Regions from separate parts of the Homo sapiens genome. Here regions 1 and 2 are each linked to region 3. The links are contacts of gene promoters, found by promoter capture Hi-C in blood cells and fetal thymus (Javierre and others, 2016). All regions are on one chromosome and are shown on one strand. Each heading gives the region's core, a stretch centred on a gene start or on the middle of the fragment in contact. The rest is flanking DNA. Distances are from core to core; before and after follow the strand shown.

Region 1 (3,727 bases), core at 678-3,177, 350 kb after region 3:
TTTAGTCAGGTTCTCAGTTTGCAGAAGCGCACGGGTGTACCTTATTTATCCTTTTATCTCCTGTGATGAATAGCATCACGGCATGACTTGGAGAAAGCACAAGGTAAGAAAATTGAACAGCTGAGTTCCAGTTCTTTGTTGTCCAGCTAATGAGCTGGTCCATGGAGACCCTACTATAACACAAACTACGACACTCTCAAAGCTGAGCACACCATCTTGACATATAATGAGGATGCAGTAATTATTTGTATTAATAAATGAATGAGGAAATCTATAATTCTGGTAGGTAATCACAAATATTTCTCTGAATTGGAGTCAGGGGTGATATACCATTTATATTCTAATACAGTCAAGATGAAAATTGTCCTAGGCCTTCAGAATGTGTTCAGGAATTTTTGGAAAGAACTCAACTGGTCATTTGCAGATAAATCCTCCTATTTATAAATAGGGATCAAAATTAACATTTCTCATTAAACTCCTCCTCTTCCCTACCTTCAAGCCTGCAGGAAGATTTATAGCCTCCATTTTACTAAATAAGAAATTTGGCCGAGCACGGTAGCTCACGCCTGTAATCCCAGCACTTCGGGAGGCCAAGGCGGGCAGATCACTTAAGGTCAGGAGTTCAAGACCAGCCTGGCTAATATGGTGAAACCCCGTCTCTACTAAAAATACAAAAATTAGCCAGGCATGGTGGCTTGCGTCTATAGTCCCAGCTACTTGGGAGGCTGAGGGAGGAGAATTGCTTGAATCCGGGAGGCGGAGGTTGCAGTGAGCTAAGATCGAGCCACTGCACTCCAGCCTGGGCAACAGAGAAACAGAGAAAGACTCTGTCTCAAAAAAAAAAAAAAAAAAAAAGAAAGAAAGAAAGAAAAAAAAGAAAAGAAAAGAAAAAGAAAAAGAAACTAAAAATCAGAGAAGTTCAGTAATTTGCTCGAGTTCACATTAGCTAGCAAATGGGTGAACCAGAATTGAACCCAAAACTGACAGATTCCACAAAGACCAATTTCTTTCTACTATATTTTGCCACCTCGACATTTCTGTTAACATGTGTACTAAGGGAATACAGCTCCTGGGGGGCAGGAAATGAGTTCTGTCCACCATTATATAACTAGGGCTAGCACAGTGATGAATAAAAATCTATTGAATGAAGCTACTCATGGTCAACAACACCCAGCCCACCTTAGAAATGTGCCCTGGACAATGTTCAGTCCTCAGGGCAGCTGGACAGAGCGCTATCCGTAAGTAACCTCATCTGTTACCCAAGTTTGTCTACAAATGTTATCATTTTCTCGGCATGCCACACTGTAGGAAAGATTGGGAAGGCTTGCACAACTTGTCAATGTCAGTAAGGCAAGTTATGTGCTCATAGCAGTAAGAATGATTTTCAGGGCTGCAAGCAGTGGCTCATGCCTCTAATCCCAGCACTTCGGGAGGCCGAGGCTGGTGGATAGCTTAAGCCCAGGAGTTCAAGCAGCCTGGGTTACATGATGAAACCCTACCTCTACAAAAAATACAAAAATTAGCCGTACATGGTAGCATTCACCTGTAATCCCAACTACTCAGGAGGCTGAAGTGGGAGGTTCCCTTGAGCCTGGGAGGCGGAGGTTGCAGTAAGCCAAGATCCCTCCACTGTACTCCAGCCTGGGTGACAGTGAAACCCTGTCTCAAAGAAAAAGAAAAAAAAGAGTGGCCAGGAAGAGAGGATTTCTTCACTTTTTGAGTTCTAAAAGTTAGGCCTGTCCACAGTGAAGTGGAAACCAAGAAAACCAATGGAGGCCATGATAATGGATTACCTGAATCAGGAATAGAGAAAGGGTTCCTTGGCAAGGGTGAGAGAGAAGAAACCGCCTACCCGAAGCAAAGAAGTCAGAAATGGGAGGGGATCATTAAATTTGTTAAATGGAACTTAAAAATTTTCTGGTGTGGATGGTAAAATAATTATCCCATCAGAACTGTGGATGGGATTGGGAGACAGGAAGAGGGGCAGCAATGTGAGCTCTCTAGGACTAGGGTTCAAATTGGTTTTGCCTAAGTAATACAGAAAACTATGATGTATCTTAACAGAAGATCCAAGCCCCTTGCATTATTCTTCACAATGACAGTAGTTGCCATTAGTTATGTATACAGTATATCGTGTACTAGGCATCTTTACATACACCTATAATCTCATTTTTAAAATCTCACATAACTCTCTAAAGTGCATAAGTCCCCACTTACACATCAGAAATCTGCATCTCAGAGAGGCTGAGTAACTTGCCCAGTGTTAAATCCCCGATGAGGAGCAGCCAGGACTCCACCCCAGGCTGTCTGACTGGGAAACCCATAGCTTGCCACGTCTGCCACAAAAGCTCTTTCTGAGAGGCAGATATTCCCCCTCCATCTATCTGAACAAACATCTTCAAATGAGAAAAAGTGGGGCAAAGACTTATCTAATTCCCAAAGCCCTGTTATAACTTAACCAATTAATGATGGCAGAGTGCTTTGAAAATGCCAGTGCTGCACTCTGACTGCCTGGGCTTTGTTGGGGCTTTGAGGCCTCCTCTTCCCCAACTTCATCCTCAAACGTTGGGCTTCTTTGCTTATTCTAAACTCTCCCTAGGCAAGATTCCTTTTCCCTATCCATCTTACCGAACATGTCATACTAGATGTCCCACAAACATTTTAACTTAACACTTCCCAAGCCAAACCTATTTTCTTCCTCCTCACAGCCTCCCATCTTAACTCATGGGATGAAAGGCTCCACAGAGCTTCTGTTTCCCACAATGGCCTCTCATAAGGATATCAAGAGGAGCAGGGAGCCCCATTCTTGGGAGGAGCCTTCAGAACCCTTGTTTGATGGGATAGTTGAAAAACACTTCACATTAGCACTGTCTCCTGCAAAGCTCCTGGTTAATAAAGGGTGGGAGATGGACCTTAAGCTAACAAAAGTGTCTCAATAATTTTTATAAAACATGCTGAGCAGAAAAACGGGTAAGAGAAAGCCTGTTTCTTTCAAAGAATCATGAATTGCCTTGGAATGATTTGAGTGGCATAAATTGAGTCTCTGCTAAAAGACTAGAAAAAAAGAAACAAAATTTCCCAAATAAATACTGATGAATAATTAAAAGTACCTACCACCGCCTAGGCTGCTGAGCCACCAGCTTCTTACCAAGTTATAATTTGACCACAAACTTCAAAAAACCATCCAGAAAAAAAGAATGCTTGAAACAGAAGCCTTTTGTCTTTCTTTCTTTTTTTTCTTTTTTACTATCTCTGAGACAAACCCAAACAGGGACACATCTGAAAAGACAGATTGATTGAACAATATACGGTTCATTATGTGTGCTGGAGGAAGACAGTGTACTGATACAAGAAGGTGGAGGAGGGAGAAGCCTGGAGACACACAGTTACAGGAATTGCTCTGCAGTGCTGCAGTCAATTTTAATTTTGCTTCCATGTTTATATCAGAGCACAATTCATGATGGCATGTTTTCCCAAGTTCCATCTCTCATCTTCCGTACTCTTCCCCTACTTCATCACATTACCAAGCCCAAAGTTGTGTATTAGTTAGCTTTCAGTATGTAATCACTACTCCAAATCCTAGTGGCTTAAAACAACAGCCATTTATTTAGTTCATAGTTCTGTGGATTGGTCAGCAATTTGGGTTGGACTCCACTGGTTTACCGTCATGCTGCTTCCTAGCTAGGTGGCTCTATTTCTGAGGCTAAGGTGGTCAACAGAGGCTACA
Region 2 (3,824 bases), core at 1,000-3,499, 460 kb after region 3:
ACCTAACACTTGAGTACCAAGCTTTAAAAGATGATTGATTATTGCAGTATCACGTTTCTGTTCTAAGTGATTGAGTTCTCCAAGAGTATTGTGAAATGACATGGTCCACATGACTTATTTGCCTTTTCTAAGTAATGTCTTTCATCTTTTCTCTAAAACAGCTAGCACTTACCTACAGATCACTAAAAATCATTCCCAAATTATATTAACCACATCTTTTACTTCACCTAAATAGACAGAAGTTCAGGTTCCTTTCATTCCTCTTGGTTCCTTGACACTCAAAATGTGAACCATAGACCAGGGGAAGCAATGGCATCACCTGGTAGGACACCATTGGCATCACCTGGTAGAATCCAAATCTGCATTATAACAAGATCCCCCAGGTGACTCACAGGCATCTTAAATTTGAGAAGCTCTGCTCTAGTTCACTTAACTTCTTGGCAGATGTGTCAGTGACACTATGCCACGGTCCTCAGGTGTGTGGCAAGCCCTCTGTGAGGCCACAGAGATACTAAGATAACTAATAACTAAGACATGACCCCTGTGATAGAAAGTAATAGTCTCTACTCTGCTCCATTTTAGACTGTGTGACCTTAGGCATGAGCCACAAATTCAATAGTAAAATGGGATTAACACTATGACCATGTAGGATTTTTATTAGGATAAGCTGAGAACACACCTGGGCCATGGTGGGATCCTCTGTAAACAATAACTTTTATTAGGTTGGTGCAAAAGTCATTGCAGGTTTTGCCATATTCCCCTCACATATTGCCAACCTAGGCTGTAACTCACCTATCTAGGCAGGATTAAAGTGACACACACCCTAAAACCCAACTGCACTGATTGGGAACTTTAGATGTTATCTGAGTTCCCTCTTTTGCACTCTCTCTAGTGATATTTGTGTACATTTCTCCTCCACTAGACTATAAGCGTAAGGGAGGGGCAGTGTCTTCTTCATCTTGCTAGCCTCCGTGTTGTCAAACAGTGTCTTAGACATAGCAGACTCGCAGTACATGGTTGTTTAAACAAGAAAGACTACTCTAGGTGTTCAAAATAATTTTTGTGTGCACCCCAATCTCATCTTTCACGTCACTTTTCATATTCCAAAATAAACTGCCAACACACAGATTTAATGAACCCAATCACTATTATCTTCTGTTGTAACCTAAAAGGCACAGTAGGTTTTAGAGGTTGGAAATTAGGCCATAATCCTGACAGTCACTACTCCTGTACTGCATGCTTATCAGAGAACATTCAATTGGGCTGGCTGATTCTCTTCTCAATGAATACTCATGGACTTTCTTTCAGAAGGGTTGTGAATTTTTAAATTGACAATTGTGCATGACCAAAACATTAAAAGTTGAGACTCCATTAGAATTGGAATGTCAGCTGGAGAATGGTTGGGAATATTAGTTTGACAGTTTTGAGTCTGAACTCCCACTCTTCTTTGCGAAGACATGTAAGAAGTCTCTGAAACACAATAGAAGATAATAAGGAACATCCTAGAAAGGCAGTCAGAGGTGAGAATTAAACTCACTACCCAGGAGGAAGACAAAATTGAATAAAAGTCATTGGCAGCATTCTGCTTGGGTGTGTATGTGGTGGGGGCAGCTGGCTCAGAAACTGGACCTCAGCAGCCGTAACTGGACTGTAGGCAATCTAATAGACAAAAAGGCTTGGGGAGATTTTGGAGTTTTCCTTAGCATGATAATAATAGACATGGCTAACTAAGGGTTTATTATGCACTAGACAGTATCGTGTGATGTACTGGCTTTTAATTTCCAGATTGATGGTAACTGGGATGACTTTTTTTCTCCAGAAAAAAAATTGTATTTTATTTTTCCAAATTATTATGATAAATGGGACTTTTGAAAAAGAATTTTCAGACAAGCTTGTAAGATAGAAAGTAAGCTTTGAAGGTAGGAATGTCTTATTCCCATGGACCCACTCCATGACCCCACTACTCAGAGGCAAACCATACCAGGAGTGTGAACTGTCTCCTTTAAGTACAAGATGGGGACAATTCCTTGTACTCATCTGGCCACAATATATAACAAACTGTGGCACACAAGTTTCAGATAAAATCTAGCAATTTTTTGAGTACTCTATAAAGCCCTAACTTTAACACAAGCCCTGAGGACTGCAAGGGACCAATAATCAGTCCCAAGGTGATGCTTGTTATCAGTGGGTGGGGTTAGGAAAGCTGCTCCTGGGGTAAGAGTTGAGCCTCTTTTATCATTTCCTTCACACCATGCACCTGGCTAACCCTTATAACAATGGGCTTGCAGAGGAAGCCCAAAATATTGGGGAAGTGCAGGCATCATCTCATTCTCTCAAAAAGCCTCATCAGAGAAGGTTTGTGGTGGCATCATGGAACCACAGGACAAAAGGCACAAGAGGGAACGAGAGCCTGACACAGACAGTGACACCAATTCTGAGTCAGGCTTGGACTTAAGCAAGACAACGGAACAGACAGCTGCAGTAGAAGGTGTGAGGGAATTCTAAAACTAAATGATGAGGCGGGGCTAGAGACAACCTTTAGGGGCTTGAGGTCCCCCACCAATGGGGAGATAGTGTGTGAAGCTTTTCATTATTCATCAAATGTTTACTGTTTAGTTTATAGCTGGCACTCTGCAGTGAATAGAACATGCATGGTCCAAAGTATTTCATGTATTTAACTTTCCAAACAACTGAAACTTTAAATTATCTGAATCTTAAATACCTTCTATGGGATATTTTCTTTTTCTTTTCTTTCTTTTTTTTTTTTTGAGATGGAGTTTCGCTCTTGTTGCCTAGGCTGGAGTGCAATGGCATGATCTCTGCTCACCACAACCTCTGCCTCCCAGGTTCAAGTGATTCTCCTGCCTCAGCCTCCTGAATAGCTGGGATTACAGGCATGCGCCACCACGCTTGGCTAATTTTGTGTTTTTAGTAGAGACAGGGTTTCTCCATGTTCGTCAGGCTGGTCTCGAACTCCCGACCTCAGGTGATCTGCCCGCCTCGGCCTCCCAAAGTGCTGGGATTACAGGTGTGAACTACTGCACCCAGCCAGGATATTTTCTTTTATTATTATTATTATTTTTTAAAATTATACTTTAAGTTTTAGGGTACATGTGCACAACATGCAGGCTTGTTACATATGTATACATGTGCCATGTTGGTGTGCTGCACCCATTAACTCGTCATTTATATTAGGTATATCTCCTAATGCTATCCCTCCACCCTCCCCCCACCCCACAACAGGCCCCGGTGTGTGATGTTCCCCTTCCTGTGTCCAAGTGTTCTCACTGTTCAATTCCCACCTATGAGTGAGAACATACGGTGTTTGGTTTTTTGTCCTTGCGATAGTTTGCTAAGAATGATGGTTTCCAGCTTCATCCATGTCCCTACAAAGGACATGAACTCATCCTTTTTTATGGCTGCATAGTATTCCAAGGTGTATATGTGCCACATTTTCTTAATCCAGTCTATCATTGTTGGACATTTGGCTTGCTTCCAAGACTTTGCTATTGTGAATGGTGCTGCAATAAACATACGTGTGTATGTGTCTTTATAGCAGCATGACTTATAATCCTTTGGGTATATACCCAGAAATGGGATGGCTGGGTCAAATGGTATTTCTAGTTCTAGATCCCTGAGGAATCGCCACACTGTCTTCCACAATGGTTGAACTAGTTTACAGTCCCACCAACAGTGTAAAAGTGTTCCTATTTCTCCATATCCTCTCCAGCACCTGTTGTTTCCTGACTTTTTAATGATTGCCATTCTAACTGGTGTGAGATGGTATCTCATTGTGGTTTTGATTTGCATTTCTCTGATGGCCG
Region 3 (3,687 bases), core at 553-3,052:
AAGGCTCAGCACTAATCCCACATCTACTATCTATCTCCCAGTCATTCTTCCATCTATCGATGGGTCCATCAGAACTTTATTGATAACCTTTTCTAACCACCCACCTAGTAGGACTTAATCATTTCAGCGGTGGACTCTCTCTCTCAATGGAGTCAAATGGTCATTTGCTTGACGGAAATACTTCTAGTCTAAAGCAGTCTAGGGGGATTTTCAAAAACTGCACTAGTGCTCTGCGGGAAGCCTTTGTACGATTTGGCCTGACGTTTCCAAAACGGTTTTACAGCCTTCCCTCCTCCAGGACCTTGAACTCAACAATCTTCCTTCTTTCCCTGAGAGGCTCGCTTTCACAGATTCTCACCACGTAGTTCAAATATAGGGTCCAGATATAGTACGGTTGCTGTTGGGGTCTGATCAGGGGCGGGAAGACCTGGAGGTCGGTAAAACGGAGCGGTGCGGGATGATGTCTGGGAACACCGGCAAGGTGTCATAAAATGAACGCCAAGGCGGCCACAAGAGGACGGCCGGGAACCGAACCCAGCGCCCAGCACGGGGCCCTTGTGGCCGACGTGACGTGGCTCCGTCAGGTGGAAACCGTGCGATCCTCTCCCGATCCAACTCACGAGAGATAAAGATGTCTAAATAACCACGACCGCCGCCGCACACCCTGCAGGGCCCCGGGGGCGGAGGGGAGGGGAGCGCCTCCTCGGCAGAAGCGGCGGCCCAGGCTTGTTTGGAGGTTCGCAATTCACCATGATAAATGTAAAGACCAATTAAGGTTTGATCCGTGCACACAGGAGGCAGACGGCGGCTGATAGTGGAAACAATTAACGAGCATGTCCCCTAATTCCTGCCGCGGCTGCTGAGCACACCGCGGCTCCCCAGGCGCCCGCCGCTGCCGCCCCCGAGTCCCAGAGCCCCCAGTCCGGCCCTGGAGTGGGGCGTCCTCCTCCAGCGAAAAGGTGCGAGGAGCGGGGCCCCGGGTGGCCGGGGAGGGGGCGCGCCGGGCCGGGAGGCGCGGAGCCAGCCGCCTACGGAGCCCAACTGTTTGCATCGGGGACCGGCGGGCGGGGCGCGCCCGAGTGGTCTCGCCGGGAAAGGGCGGCGGGCGCTGGAGAAGGCGCCTGGCGCGAAGCTGGGCGGCGCCCCGAGGGCGGAGGACAGGTGGCCGCGCGACCGCAGCCAGGTAGCGAACGGCTCGGGGGCTGCGCAGCGCGGTCCCAAAGCTCAGCCCGGCCCCGGGCCCAGCTCGCTGCCGCCTGCCACGGGAGCGGCCTTGCGCGGAGGGAGGGGGCGCGAGACCGCACCCCCGGGCCCGGCGCGCCTCGGCCTCTGGGCTCCCGCTCCCCTTCCCCTTCCGGCTCAGCCCGCTGCCCCAGACGTGACCCCCGCGGAAGGTGTTGGCGATGCGCGCTGCCCGGGAGCGTGTGATTAATGGCCCCGAGGTCGTGGGCGGCGCATGCACCAGCCCCTTCTTGGCCTGGTCAGGGTGTGAGGGTATCCGGGAGCACAGCGAGGTCATGGCAGCGGGGGCCTCCGGGAGCGCGGCGGCGGAGGAGGAGGAGGAAGAGGAGAAGTAGGTGACGCGGGCCGAAGAGGCTTGTCCCCTCTGGCCCCAGGGCTGGCGCCGCGGCGGGTCCCCCGCCCCAAGCAAAGTTTGGGGCTACGGGCGCTGCGCTCAGGTCCCTCCCCGCGCAGTTCCCTCGGCGGGGTCTGTGCCGCCGCCGCTGCCAGGGCAGGACAAAGGCTCATTAACACGTGATGGGACCGCGCTTCATAAATGGGACTGGAGCGAGAGGGAGCCAGAGACAGCGCGAGCGGAGGGAGCGGCAGGGACTGCGCGAGCGGGACGAGGCGACGGGCGCCCGGGCTGGCGGAGACGGGCGGCCCCACGCCGGGCCAGGCGGGGCTCGCGGGAGGACCCAGTGAAGAGCCTGGGAAGGGGCGAGGCTCGCCGGCGGTCGGAGCAGCGGGGCGCCAGTCCCGGTCGCTGTCGCGGGCGGGCGCTGGAGACCGGGACGCCGGCGCTCGGACGGACTGACTTGCTGACCGCCCGCCGGAGGCACACCCCACTCCACCCCACCCCGCCTCGCCAGCAGCCCGGCGCCGGCGCCGCCTCCCGCACGCTACTCCCTCTGCCACCCCTTCCTTCTCCACTTCTTTTCCGCCTCCGCCTCTTCTTGTCTCCCGCGGCGCCAGCGCCTTCCCTTGGCCCGGGCGGGGGCCTCGGCTCCCTGCAGAGCTCTCCGTAGTCAGTGGGGGATATTTCGTTCTAGCGGACAACCAGCCCCTGAGCTGGGCGAGAGGTGCCAAGGGAGCTTCTGTCCCGAGGACCAGGGGATGCGAAGGGTAAGACCTGGCAGAGTTGCGTTTGGAAATACTTTTTCCGCCTCCCGCCCCCTCGGGTACGACCAGTGTGGTCCCCAAGTGTCCTTCGTGGAGTTCTTATTCCGTGTGAGCGAATCGTGCGTCGGTGTTTACTTAGCTGTATGGCCCCAGCCTGTTAACTGTGATCTGTTCTACTTCTGGAGATTTCTACCATTTACTATTTATTGAATGTGTGTGCACCTGGCTCTGTATGCACTGATGTCTGTTTGTAGAAAATGGGTAATTGTGCATGTTTGAAAAACGGGCGCTTGAGTTGGTGCTGAATGCCTATAAACCATGTTAGCAGCTAAGTCTTCCCAGGGAAATACATCGATCTCTGCTGCAAGCCTAGAAACTGACTAATGTAAAATAGTAAATGTCATATAAAGAGATGTATGTCAAATAATAAACTTTTGATAAAAAGCTACAGGAACCACTTCTCTTTGAGGAAAAACAAATGTCCATGTAACTAATACCTAAAATTGAATGTTGATGGAACCGTTTAACTCAGAACTAGCTGTTAGATGACTAAAGTTAATGTTGCATTTTTAAAAGACATTTCTTGTTAAGGCTTACAAATCATAAACGGATCACCTCTCAAATAAAAATATGTTTGCTGTAATAGACATGAGAAACTGTCATTTGGTCATTTGGAAGTTTAAAAGCAACATGCATGTTTCTGATTTTAATAGATTGTCTCTCAGATATTTAAAATTGAACAGATAAAAAAACAAAAGAAATGTTTAGTAACGTATTAATCATTTTGCCTCCCATCTTTTTTTATTTTCCTCCAAATAAGTGCTATTCTTGCCTTTGTTGTTGATTTCCTGATATAGTAAGCCTCCTCGGGCATGTAATCCAATAAGAGATTAGAACAGATTTACTGGTTTTAAAGGTGTTGAAAGATATCTCTGTGGGTCCCATAACTTCTCCTCATTTTTATTACCAAGTTAATATCTTTTGAACAATGGGGGAAATGCAATTTCTTAGAGGAAGCTTAGCGGACACTGAGTATTAGTGGGGTCACCACTGACATCAATCTATTTTGCAGAATATTGAGAAGCTCAGAGCAACCAACCTTTAAGGTTCCCATAGGACTTTATGTGATTTAAAGTGTTGCTTTTCTAATCCTACCCTACTGACAGTTTGCAAGGGAAGATACACTAATTGATTTTTCTCTGTCCTTTTTTTCCCTGGTACTCCTCCCCCTCCCCCGCTCTCTAACTCAGTTAAGAGCAATTTTATAAAAATAAAAGGCCATTTATAGTTTCTTAAGTGAGACAAATTACTTTCAGATTATATCCATACATGAGCAGAAGACAT

The links. The method cuts DNA at HindIII sites, captures the fragments that hold promoters and counts their contacts. A CHiCAGO score of 5 or more calls a contact.
Region 1: a fragment that was not itself captured here is called in contact with the fragment with the promoter of CNR1 in region 3 in 1 of 17 cell types (naive B cells); the score reaches 5.5 in naive B cells.
Region 2: a fragment that was not itself captured here is called in contact with the fragment with the promoter of CNR1 in region 3 in 1 of 17 cell types (total B cells); the score reaches 5.0 in total B cells.

The regions. Positions count from the first base shown.
Region 1 is chr6:87,818,093-87,821,819 of GRCh38, reverse strand. All of the region lies in intron 2 of LOC101928911 (a long non-coding RNA gene), which reads right to left. Among named protein-coding and RNA genes, the nearest start is that of AKIRIN2, 120 kb to the right of the region's middle. The HindIII fragment of the contact is 4,947 bases long and covers 1-3,727 here.
Region 2 is chr6:87,708,831-87,712,654 of GRCh38, reverse strand. No RefSeq gene overlaps it. Among named protein-coding and RNA genes, the nearest start is that of AKIRIN2, 8.5 kb to the right of the region's middle. RefSeq lists an enhancer at 2,314-2,453. The HindIII fragment of the contact is 672 bases long and covers 1,914-2,585 here.
Region 3 is chr6:88,164,462-88,168,148 of GRCh38, reverse strand. It overlaps CNR1 (cannabinoid receptor 1), which reads left to right and starts at 1,802. Exons shown (of 2, transcript NM_016083.6): 1 at 1,802-2,346. RefSeq lists silencers at 676-875, 946-1,385, 1,446-2,125. The HindIII fragment of the contact is 6,129 bases long and covers 1-3,362 here.